Regions from separate parts of the Homo sapiens genome. Here region 2 is linked to region 1. The links are contacts of gene promoters, found by promoter capture Hi-C in blood cells and fetal thymus (Javierre and others, 2016). All regions are on one chromosome and are shown on one strand. Each heading gives the region's core, a stretch centred on a gene start or on the middle of the fragment in contact. The rest is flanking DNA. Distances are from core to core; before and after follow the strand shown. Region 1 overlaps IDH2 (isocitrate dehydrogenase (NADP(+)) 2). Region 2 holds the start of ANPEP (alanyl aminopeptidase, membrane).

Region 1 (6,045 bases), core at 1,793-4,292:
GGGTACCGTTCCTGGAGAGCTGGGCCTTGCCCTGGGAGGTGGGAGGTTGCCGGCAATCGCCAGGCTAGGGCACCACGCCAGGGCCCTGTCTCTCCCCCTGCAGTCCATCTCAGGTTTTGCGCACAGCTGCTTCCAGTATGCCATCCAGAAGAAATGGCCGCTGTACATGAGCACCAAGAACACCATACTGAAAGCCTACGATGGGCGTTTCAAGGACATCTTCCAGGAGATCTTTGACAAGTAAAGCCTCATCCATGTACTCTGTGGCCTTTCTTCCCTTCCCCCCATGCTGTTCCCATCCTACCCTGGGAAGGTCGCTATTAGAGTGCATTTGGCTCAGCTCCGAGGCTCAGGGAGGGATCCCCAACCTGTCAGCCTTCTGCCCTCTCCCCATAACAGACCTTTTTACTCCCAGGCACTATAAGACCGACTTCGACAAGAATAAGATCTGGTATGAGCACCGGCTCATTGATGACATGGTGGCTCAGGTCCTCAAGTCTTCGGGTGGCTTTGTGTGGGCCTGCAAGAACTATGACGGAGATGTGCAGTCAGACATCCTGGCCCAGGGTACGCTGGGAGGACGCTGCTCCCTGTGGGGGTGGACTGTTGGTCTTCTCTGGCTGGAGGGATTTTCAGACCCTTTTGGTAGAAAACTCTAGTGGAGCAGGACTCATTGCAGGGTCCTCTGTGGACAGCAGGGGGCAGGAGCTCCCTGGCATCTGAGTGAGAGAGGATCACAAATTAGGTTTGGACTGGTGTATGACTGAGGCTGCTCTTAGAGAGAAAGGAGGGCACAGGAATTCCAGGGCTAGGTTGACAGCCCTAAGGTTGCTCCAGTCCATGATGGAGCCTCATGACTCTTTGGTTCCAGTAGGAAAATGGGATCAAGCGGGACTGGAGGTTCTTTAAACTACAGCGAATGCATTTTGCATAGTGAACCTAATGGATGGAAGAGAATGTTGGGGAAGCCTGCAAACCCCCAAGCCCTAGGGTGTCCTAAAAGACAAATCAGATTGCAGTAAAAAGTATAGGTGATGAGGTCAGGAGTTTGAGACCAGCGTGGCCAACATGACGAAACCCCGTCTCTACTAAAAATGCAAAAAAATTTAGCTGGGCATGGAGGCGGGCACAGTCATGGACACCTGTAATCCCAGCTACTTGAGAGGCTGAGGCAGGAGAATCTCTTGAACCCAGGAGGTGGAGGTTGCAGTGAGCCGAGATTGCGCCATTGCACTCCAGCCTGGGCAACAAGGGTGAAACTCCGTCTCCAAAAAAAATAAAAAATAAAAAATAAAGTATAGGTGAGACCATTAGAGAAGAACAGCGAGAAATGGGCCAATTGTGTTGGGAACAAGAGCAGGAAAGGTGGTAGGTGTGGGAAACAGGCAGGACATAGAGAGTGAAAGAGAAACCTAAGCTTACCAGGGCAGCTCCTGGTATGGGGAAAAGGGAAGCCCAGGACGGGTTCTGATGAAAAGCAGAGTCTTGTTACTTTGTGTAAACCTTTGGCTTTACTTTGGAAAGTTCAGTGGGGATCCTCTCACCGAACAATTCCCATCTAGGATAGAAGGATGAAACGCCATAGCAGATGAGGCAGAGGCATGAAAATGAACCTTAAGTGTCTAAGGAATGGTGTGAAGGTGCAGGTAAAATGGAGAAGGGATTGCTTACAGCCAAAATTCTTAGAATTCATAGACAAAGCATTTTCCTGTAGATGTTGTCCATGTTTTCTTTCTTCAATCCTTATTTTGGTGTCATGGGGGTGCCTTTGAAGCCCTGGAGTCCTTGACAATAGAAAAGCTTGCTGGAGTTGACATGTGGATTTGGGAGCATTCAGAAATTAATCAAAAAGCTTGAAAGTGGCCTAAGAGAGTAGCTGCAAAAGTGATTGTTGGGAAATAGCTGACCACAGCTTTATTGTTTTCCTTGAATGTGCCTCCGGGTCACGAGCCAGGCTGGGTGGCAGGCTGTGGGGGACCACAGGACTCTGTGGCCTCTTGGGCCCTGTGGGCCACAGGCTGTGGGGCGCCTGGAGCTGGTGACACAGATGGATGTTAATGTGCTGGTGATAGCCACCCTCCAGTGCCCTCCAGCCCTGTGCTGGGCCCTGGAGACCCACAGGAGGGTGAAGAGACCTGGAACAGTCCCTGTCCTCCCAGTTGCAGCTGGGGGAGGCTGAGTAGAGCCACGAACTATGGCAGCTACAATATTGGGTTGTAGAGGGCAGCAGGGCTCAGCTGGGTGGCCCCAGGAGAGGCGAGGCCCTGAGAGAAAGGCTTTCTACCCTCCAGGCTTTGGCTCCCTTGGCCTGATGACGTCCGTCCTGGTCTGCCCTGATGGGAAGACGATTGAGGCTGAGGCCGCTCATGGGACCGTCACCCGCCACTATCGGGAGCACCAGAAGGTGAGTGCAGGGCATGGGGCCTCACAATGCCCCTCTACCCCAGGGGCCTAAAGCCCACTGGGCTGAGGGCTGGAAGGACGAGCCTGACCCACCAGCCCAGGGGCGGGCAGCTGTATCTGGGCAGCCTCCTCACTAGCTGGCTCGGCTCTTGATCTCCCTGCAACCCCCGTCCCCAGGGCCGGCCCACCAGCACCAACCCCATCGCCAGCATCTTTGCCTGGACACGTGGCCTGGAGCACCGGGGGAAGCTGGATGGGAACCAAGACCTCATCAGGTGAGCATGGAGGGAGAGGCCGGAGCTGCCCAGGACAGGCTCTGGGTCCTGCCCTTGCACAGATGGGGTCTCATTCTGCCCCATCCCCATAGGTTTGCCCAGATGCTGGAGAAGGTGTGCGTGGAGACGGTGGAGAGTGGAGCCATGACCAAGGACCTGGCGGGCTGCATTCACGGCCTCAGCAAGTGCGTGGCCTGGGGTGGTAGGCAGACCCTGGGGCCATGTGGGAGGAAGCCAGGGGACCCCTCCTAAAGTCCCCCTCATGAGTCAGCTTAGCTGCAAGGGGGCCTGGGGCAGGACATGTCCACAGCCCTGAGAGACTGCTCAGGCCAGCCTCTGTAGACCAGGTCTAGTGAGTTCCTCCCCATCCCTGAGGCTGGCTACTCAGAGCTCCTTCCGACCCTGCCCACACCCCTTTCCCAGCTTCTCTCAGGAGAGCAGTTACCTGGCAAGACAGACCCTGCGGGTGCCTGCCGAATCTCGGTGGCCTCATGGTAGGGGGCTATAGCTGGCCTCTGGCCTGTAGTCTGGGTGGCAGGAGATGGCTGTTCTGATGCCCAAGCTCAGGCTGTTCCCTGGAAGGGCCTGGCTGATGGCCTTGGCAAGGCCTGGAGCCACCCCTGATGTGAGTGGTGCTCTCTCTGCAGTGTGAAGCTGAACGAGCACTTCCTGAACACCACGGACTTCCTCGACACCATCAAGAGCAACCTGGACAGAGCCCTGGGCAGGCAGTAGGGGGAGGCGCCACCCATGGCTGCAGTGGAGGGGCCAGGGCTGAGCCGGCGGGTCCTCCTGAGCGCGGCAGAGGGTGAGCCTCACAGCCCCTCTCTGGAGGCCTTTCTAGGGGATGTTTTTTTATAAGCCAGATGTTTTTAAAAGCATATGTGTGTTTCCCCTCATGGTGACGTGAGGCAGGAGCAGTGCGTTTTACCTCAGCCAGTCAGTATGTTTTGCATACTGTAATTTATATTGCCCTTGGAACACATGGTGCCATATTTAGCTACTAAAAAGCTCTTCACAAAATTGTCTGCTGTGTTTGTCCCTGAGGGGAGGAGGTAGTGGGACCCTGAGGCAGAGGCCCTGCTAGAGCTGGCAGGTTCCCCTGGGGCAGACCAGAGCACCTCAGGAAGGGGCTGCCACGGCAGGGAAGGGACCAGGCAGCCCTGGGAGCCCGCATTCCACAGGGGCCCACTGCGGAGTTCTCGGACACTCAGGGCACAGGCCTGTGGGTTCCCTGGAATTTTCTAGCATGATCCAGTTTCTGTGTCCAGTTCTCCATTCTGAGAGTCAATCAGTTCCTGATAGGTTGTCATTGATTTTTTTCTTCGTTGGTTTTAACCTTCTAAACATCTCCAGGCCACTTTCTTAGCCTTTTTCTAGGTACTAAAAAGAGGTCCTACCCACACCTGCCTCACACTTCTCCTTTCCAAGGCTGCCTGAGTTTGGAGGGGCTTGGGTGTGTGTGAACAAGGGCCCTGCATTGTCTAGGCCTGCAGTTCCCAGGCTTGGGTTCACTTTCACCATGCATTGGCAAAACTAGAAAAGTAAGCTTGTGACAAATTGTTCTCGGCCGGGCACAGTGGCGCACGCCTATAATCCCTGTACTTTGGGAGGCTGAGGTGGGTGGATCACTTGAGGCCAGGAGTTCGAGACCAGCCTGGCCAACATGGTGAAACCCCATCTCTACTCAAAATACAAAAATTAGCCAGGCGTGGTGATGCGCACCTGCAGTCCCAGCTACTCGGGAGGCTGAGGCAGGAAAATGGCTTGAACCTGGGAGGCAGAGGTTGCAGTGAGCCGAGACTGCACCACTGCACTCCAGCCTGGGTGACAGAGCAAGACTCTGTCTCAAAAAAAAAAAAAAAAAAAAAAAAAAAAAAATTGCTCTATGCAAGTTTTTTAGCCCCATGTAAAAAGGAAAAATAAAAGTTGCTCTAAAGCTACATATAATCAAAAGGACTGTCCTCTGCATAGTAAGTTCTGCAAAGCTTCTTCTTTTTGGTGTTAAAATGTCCTGGAGAAGAGTTGTATAATCTTTATAAAGTCCTGGCCAGGTGTGGTGGCTCATGCCTATAGTCCCAGCACTTTGGGAGGCCAAGGTGGGAGGATCACTTGAGCCCGGGAGTTTGAGGCTGTAGTGAGCTATGACTGCACCACTGTACTCCAGCCTGAGTAACAGAGTGAGACCCCATCTCTCAAAACCCCATCTTACAAAGTCCCTTTCCTAAATACTGGGGGGACTCCTATGGCTCCTGAAACCCGACCATTGCGGTAGACTGAGTGGCTTTGGAAGGGCTCTAGCCCTCCATCCACACTGGTGACCCCCCGCTTGCTTTTCCTGAGTAATGCCCTGAAACTCTCAGGGCTATAAGAAGAAACGTGGACTGCTGGCTCTAGCAGGCCCAGCCCCTGGGAGGAAGCTCAAGGCTTCCTGCCTCTTCTTGCCTGTCACCAGCACGGGGCTGGCAGCTCTGCAGAACGCAGCCTCTGAAGCCCAGCCTGGCATCGGGAGCTGGCTTCTTTCCTGAAGCCATGTGGGTGGGTAGGGAGGGGAAGCAGCTTTTCTCTGCAAGTGGTGGGAATACAGGGGCCGTGGCCCACACCACTCTCTTGGGCCCGGGGCAGCTGGCTATAGGCGCCTGGCCCTGCAGGGGGCCATTCCAGTGCAGAGGATGGTCTCAGCCTCCCCCGGGCCCTGGGAGAGTGCAGCCCTGCTGTGTGGGGCTGGGAAGTTTTGCTGGGAGTTCCTGCTGGGAGTGAGGGCCAGGTCCCCAAGAGCTGGGGAAAGAAGCATTTGCAGTCACCTCACTAAAGAATATTCATTTATTTATAATTATTGCTAAGTAAACTTCTCTTTTAAACAGGAACATAAAAACACAGTAGGGCTTTGCACAAGTGGAATCTCTAAACAGTTGGTTTGTATACATGTCAAAATAAGTTAGAATGGAATTTGTCCAGGAGTTTCCAAGTCACCCGAGAGGCTGTGCACCTCTTTTGAGAAGGTTAGGGAGGGGTACAGACAGGAGCCTTGCCAAGACCACCCCCCAGCTCAAACTGTGAGTTGTGCTGTTTCCTCCTCCTAGCTTTGCCCAGGTCCAAGGCACAGGGCAGGGGGCGTTCAAGTATCGAACCTCACAGAGGGCCAGTGCTGACGGCGGGGCTGGGGGAGGGAAAGGAGAGCCCCACCCTGGGGGCCAGACCTTCTCCCTTCAGTTTCCAAGACCAAGGCCACTGCACTGGCAGGAGGGAGGAGGAGGAGGAGAGGTACAGGGTTCTTTTTGGTACCAGGGGAGAAAGACGTGGGAAGAGGTAGTTGCAGGGGATGATGCCTTCTGCTCAGCAGGAGAAAATGTCTTATACAGTGACG
Region 2 (5,415 bases), core at 1,200-3,699, 270 kb after region 1:
GCTGGTCTCGAACTCCTGACCTCGTAATCTGCCTGCCTTGGCCTCCCAAAGTGCTGGGATTACAAGCATGAGCCACCACGCCCAGCCCACTTAGGCTATTTCTGATTTTCCAGTATTATAAGTAATACTGCAGTGAAAAGCCTTGCATATAAATATTCTATTTCCTTAGGCTAAATTTATTTATTTTTTTGAGACAGTCTTGCTCTGTAGTCGAGGCTGGAGTGCAGTCATGTGATCTCAGCTCACTGAAGCCTCTGCCTCCCAGGTTCAAGCGATTCTCGTGCCTCAGCCTCCCAAGTAGGTGGGACCACAGGCATGCGCCACCACACCTGGCTGATTTTTGTGTTTTAGTACAGACACAGTTTCACCAGGTTGCCCAGGCTGGCCTTGAATTCCCGACCTCAAGTGATCCACCTGCCTTACAGGCATGAGCCACCACGCCCAGCCTCTTCAGGCTAAATTTCTGAAAGTGATCTTCATTCCTAACCCCAAACTGCCCTCCAGAAAGCTGGGTTGCACTTCTGCCACAGCAGGATCTTTACTCCTCTTAAAATCTCCGCGGAGCCTGGGTGGGAGAGGCAGAGCTCCGGGGGGAAGATTCTCTCCTGGCCTGATGTAGTGTTTTCCTTGGCTTGTCAGACATGGAGGAGATTATGCCAGATATGATAGTGGAGAGAGTCAGACATGCATGAGACTGGAGAGAGAAAAAAAACAAAATAGCCTCTGAGGTCTCACTCACAGCCTACTTACTCTTACTTTACACACAATTCTATATTCCGATATGTTTGTGACCTGGTTTTTAAGAGTACAGAGCAAATTAGGAAGGAGAAGCAAGGCTGCTACCTAGAGGTACCCTGGTCCTCCATGAAGTTTCCAAAAGAAGAGCAAGTGCAAGTAAAATAATAAAACACAGCCAGTCACAAAGCCATCAATTTGGACCATGCAGTGCAAGGCTTTAACTGTCCCAAGGATTCCAATCATGGATAAGGAAGAGCTTAAATTTGATTATAAATCTGAAAGTCTGGAAGTCAGCTTGAATATTGTGGTAGACATAATCATATCCTCCTCCTCAAAAGATGCCCTGGTTCTAATGCCCAGAATCTGTGAATATGTTATGCTACCCCACGAAGGGAAATTACAGTTGCAGGTGGAATTCAAGTTGCCAATCCATTGATTTAAAATAGAAAGATTACCCTGGATTATCTGGGTAGGCCCGATGTAATCACAAAGATGCTCACCAGTGGAAGCAAGAGGCAGAACAGTTGGTGTCAGAGTGACAGATTGTGAGAGACTGGTGGGCCACTGCTGGCTTTGAAGATGGATGGGGCCACCAGCCAAGGAATGTGGGCAGCTTCTAGAAGCCAGAAAAGCCAAAGAAACAGGTTCCCTTCCAGCCTCAAGAAAGCTGTATCCCTCAACCCCCTTGCTTTTAGTCCAGCGAGACCCATTTTGGACTTCTGATTTTACAAAACTTGTAAGATAGTAAATTAGTGTTGTTTTATGTTTGTGTTACGGCAGCCACAGGGAACCAATACAAATATTATCTGGTACCGCCCATTAAAGCTGCTCAGAGACAGGGAGCCCCACCCTGGCGGGGCTCCGGTGGCTGCACAACCTCTGCAAGCAGGATCAAGATGAGAGGCGCAGGCCAGGTGTGGTGGCTCACTCCTGTAATCTCAGCACTTTGGGAGGCCAAGGCGGGCGGATCACTTGAGGTCAGGAGTTCGAGACGAGCCTTACATGGTGAAACCCTGTCTCTACTAAAACTCCAAAAATTAACCAGGCGTGGTGGCGTGCACCTGTAGTCCCAGCTACTCGGGAGGCTGAGGCAGGAGAATCGCTTGAACCCAGGAGGAGGAAGTTGCAGTGAGCGGAGAAAGTGCCACTGCACTCCAGCGTGAGCGACAGAGCGAGACTCTGTCTCAAAAACAAATAAAGGAAAAAGAAAAAAATGAGAAGCGCGTGTTCCCGACTCCGGTGCTTTTTCGCAAGGTCGTGCTACTGCGCCTTCTGAACTACGAGTCCCAGGTACCAAGAAAGTTGAATTGCGTGCTGTGGCGGGTCCGTTATCTGCACCACCCGTCTGCACGGGATGCGCTGGCTTCCTGCCCCGGATGCACAAGGCTCCCTGCGGGACACTCAGGGCGAGGCTCTGAGCCCCTCCCCCGCGGCAGATGCCGTCCAGATGTGGCCGGCGGGTCCCGCGGGCTGCGGCGACAGGGACCCCGTCGGGGGCAGCAGGAGCCCTGGTGCATCCCAGGCCCCGGGGGGAAGGCCGGGCCGTCGGAGGAGCGGAGGAGCCCTGGGGGGCTCCCGGGAAGCCGCGGGCGGACGGGGGAGGAGCCCGGGCGGAGCTGCGGGCGGGCGGCCCGCTAGGGGTGAATCGGGTGGAGTAGTGGTCGGGTCCGGTTACTTCCCTTTAAAAAGACGGGAAAGGAGGAGTCCAGTGCTGGAGGGGCAGGGACGGCGGCGGCGCAGCTCGGAACCCGCCAGGGTCCAGGGTCCAGGTTCCAGCGCCCGGCGGCCCAGGCAAGTGGGGCGGGAGGGCGGGGGCTGCGGGCGCGGGTAGGGGTCGTGGGGCAGTTGGGTGCGCGGGAACCGAGGGAGCTGCAGACCCAGCGCTTGGCGCGTGCGGAGCTGGACTTCTGCGGCCGCGACGCCCCTCTTCCCAGATGGGTAAACTGAGGGCCAGGGAAAGCGAAGAATTCTTTTGGCCGAGCTCCCACTACGATCTCGCGGTCAAGTGGGTCCCCAGCGGGCCTCGCAGGGGTCGGAGGGGCTCCCATCTGGGGAGGGGGCCCCAGGGTGGGCGAGGGCGACGGGAGCCTGGGGAGGACGGACGGGGAGGGCGGCGGAGCGGAGCTAAGCTGCGGCGGGTGGACCCGGCTCGGCCGCGGCCACTCTGTCCCTGGTGGGTGGGGCGCGGCCGAAGGCAAAGGGCGAACCCGGCCCGCCTGTGGGGTCTCTGGCCAACACTGGGCTCAGAGGCCCTTTCTTTAACCTTAGATCTCGCTCCTCGGTCTAAAGCCTCCGCCGCAGCTCTCAGTGAAGAGGAAGGGGAACTCTAGGTGCTCAACGCCCGCGTTACAGTCGCGTTCTCCCTCGCTCCTACAACCCGGCCAAGATGCCGGGGCATGGATGGGGACCGAGGTTTGGGGGTTGTGGAGCCTATTCCACGCCCTCCCTGGTGAGCAACTGAGACAGATCCAGGGCCCCATTGCAATCCACTCTTGGTCTGGGAAAAGGTCCCCTAAACAGGGCCAATGGGATCCTTTCCCCAAATGACTCCAGAACGCACCCCCCCCCCCCAGCAGTGCGGTGGGCAGGGACGGCCCAGGTGGGCTATGTCCTGGGGTTTTGTGACTGGATCCCCACTCCTCCCCCACCTCAGCCCCTGGACTGCAACCCACCAGGCCGTGTTCGGGGGTGGTCAGAGCCCTGGTCTCAGCCAGACCTGAGGTCTGATGTGGCTTCATCCCTGAGTCTCTAAACGCCCTGGCCTTACTGGGCCTCAGTTAATTCACCTGTGAAAGGGGAGGCTTGGACCAGAGGGCCCCTCAGGGTATGTGTTTTGTGGAGGGGAGGTGGGCGTGTGGGGTAGGGGTGACCAGGAGGAAGTGGGGACAGCCTCTGTCCCACAGGAAGGCTGGCTAGCCCCAGTGGGTATGGGGGAGCTGGGCAGGGAAGAGGGTGGACTCCCCTCTCCCTGTGGGAGGGTGTGCTGGGCCCATGAGGCCCTCATCCACTCTCAGCCACCTTCCTGTGGAGCCCTAGCCTCGAAGGCCACACTATGAGTGCAAGGAGGCCACCCACAGCGCTGCTCCCGCTTCACAGGTGGGGAAACCGGCCCAGTGTCTTGAGGCAGCCCAGCCGCCTGCCCTGTGCTTCCCCCAGAGCCTTCTGGGGAATGAGACCTTCGTTACACGCTGGCGCTCCTTACACCCCTACAGCCTTTAAGCTAAGGCCTCCAGCCCCATCGCTGTAAGAATTGTATGCTAGGCATTCTGAGGACATAGATGGGGGTCCCCATGTCGGAAGGAGCCAAGGTGTTGGAACTGGGTCCAGTTCCTGGGCTGGCTCTGGTGGGAGATCTGGAACCCTATGCTGGGGCTCCTGGACAGCCCTGGAGGCATGGCATGGACAGTGTGTCAGCCGCACACCGAGGCCCTGGGGTGTCCTTATTCACATAGGCTGGCAGCCATCTATCCCTAGCCCGGGCTTCACCCCGGGTGCCTGTCACTCCTGGCCCTACAGTGGTCCCAGTCACACCTTGGAGGCAAGATGTGGGTCCTCCACAGGCCTGTGTCTGGAAGCAGCCCCCAGCACTCCCTGGCTAACAAGTTCTACTTCTGAGAACTACCCCCAGCTCCCAGCCCTGGTCTGGCCAAATGGGTGCGTGTCTTCTCCTGTGGTCTTCAACTCCCCTTGGCACGGCCACAGTAGATGTGAGGGGCTGTATGGGAGGACATTTTTAGGAGGCATATGTAGTTAAGCTGTGGAACCTGCTGCTAACTAGCTGTGTGGCCTTGGGCAAATCACTTAACCTTTCTGTGCCTCAGTGTCCTCATTTGCCAAATGGGGGTGATTATCCTGGTAGGGCACATAGTAGGTGCTCAGTTTCACCTACCATGTGTCTCACCAGGATAATCACCCCCCATTTGGCAGACAGGAGTTGCCAGGCAGGATCTGTGGCCCCACACAAACCCTATGTGTACTTCCCCCACCCACAAATGCCTCTGCTCCTTCCTCCTGTGTGCCCTGCATTGGGCTGAAGAGGCTGATGAGAGGCAACTTCCCATTGGGGCCTTCTGAGGTTCTTGCAGGAGGGGCAATGTCCAAGGCTCCCAGAGGAAGCACCCTGGGGTGATGCAGCTATGGGCGGAGGCCTCAGAAGCCTGGGAGAAAGCCAGGGGCCTGCGGGGACAGAGTGTGCCCTGGCCCAGGCCCAGCCTCGTCCCTACCCTTCTCGCTCACTGCTCCCTCAGAGCAGACAATGAGCCCCAGGTTGTCCCTGAGCTCCCAGTCTCATAGTTCACAGTCAGGGACACTGAGTGGGAGTGGGTGGGGCCTACCCAAGGACCCAGTGGTCGGGGATGGAGCATGGATAACACAGCAGCTCACCCGGCCACGGGTGCTCAGCTCTCCCGGCCACAGCCCCTCCCAGGCTCCTGGAGTCTTCATATTAGAGTAGAAAGCCTCTTGCACTTCACATCTGAGACCAAGGAGCCTCTCCCCACCCACAAGTGTGGGTGTCTTCCACACTGTGACTGTGACTTAGTTATGCCCTGGCATGATCGTTGTCAACCTTCATGTTTTTTGGTTTTGGCTTTGGTTTTAGTTTAGAAGAACTTACGTTTTCTGGACTAAAACATAGGCAGGGAAGAAATACATAAACCCATAGAAAGGCTGCTTTAG

Evidence for each region. The method cuts DNA at HindIII sites, captures the fragments that hold promoters and counts their contacts. A CHiCAGO score of 5 or more calls a contact.
Region 2: a contact is called between the fragment with the promoter of ANPEP here and a fragment that was not itself captured in region 1, in 2 of 17 cell types (neutrophils and monocytes). The highest score is 6.3, in neutrophils.

Annotation. Positions count from the first base shown.
Region 1 is chr15:90,081,634-90,087,678 of GRCh38, reverse strand. It overlaps IDH2 (isocitrate dehydrogenase (NADP(+)) 2), which reads left to right. Exons shown (of 11, transcript NM_002168.4): 6 at 104-240; 7 at 416-567; 8 at 2,292-2,404; 9 at 2,581-2,678; 10 at 2,771-2,863; 11 at 3,326-4,634. The coding sequence ends at 3,413. It overlaps ZNF710 (zinc finger protein 710), which reads right to left. Exons shown (of 5, transcript NM_198526.4): 5 at 5,488-6,045. ZNF710-AS1 (ZNF710 antisense RNA 1) reads left to right here and starts at 5,472. Exons shown (of 2, transcript NR_146321.1): 1 at 5,472-6,045. RefSeq lists enhancers at 1-594, 2,700-3,200, 3,201-3,701. The HindIII fragment of the contact is 2,375 bases long and covers 1,855-4,229 here.
Region 2 is chr15:89,811,886-89,817,300 of GRCh38, reverse strand. ANPEP (alanyl aminopeptidase, membrane) reads left to right here and starts at 2,449. Exons shown (of 21, transcript NM_001150.3): 1 at 2,449-2,529. RefSeq lists cis regulatory regions at 2,066-2,068, 2,086-2,115, 2,114-2,117, 2,025-2,153, 2,405-2,410, promoters at 2,025-2,513, 1,359-2,513 and an enhancer at 2,381-2,880. The HindIII fragment of the contact is 11,363 bases long and covers 1-5,415 here.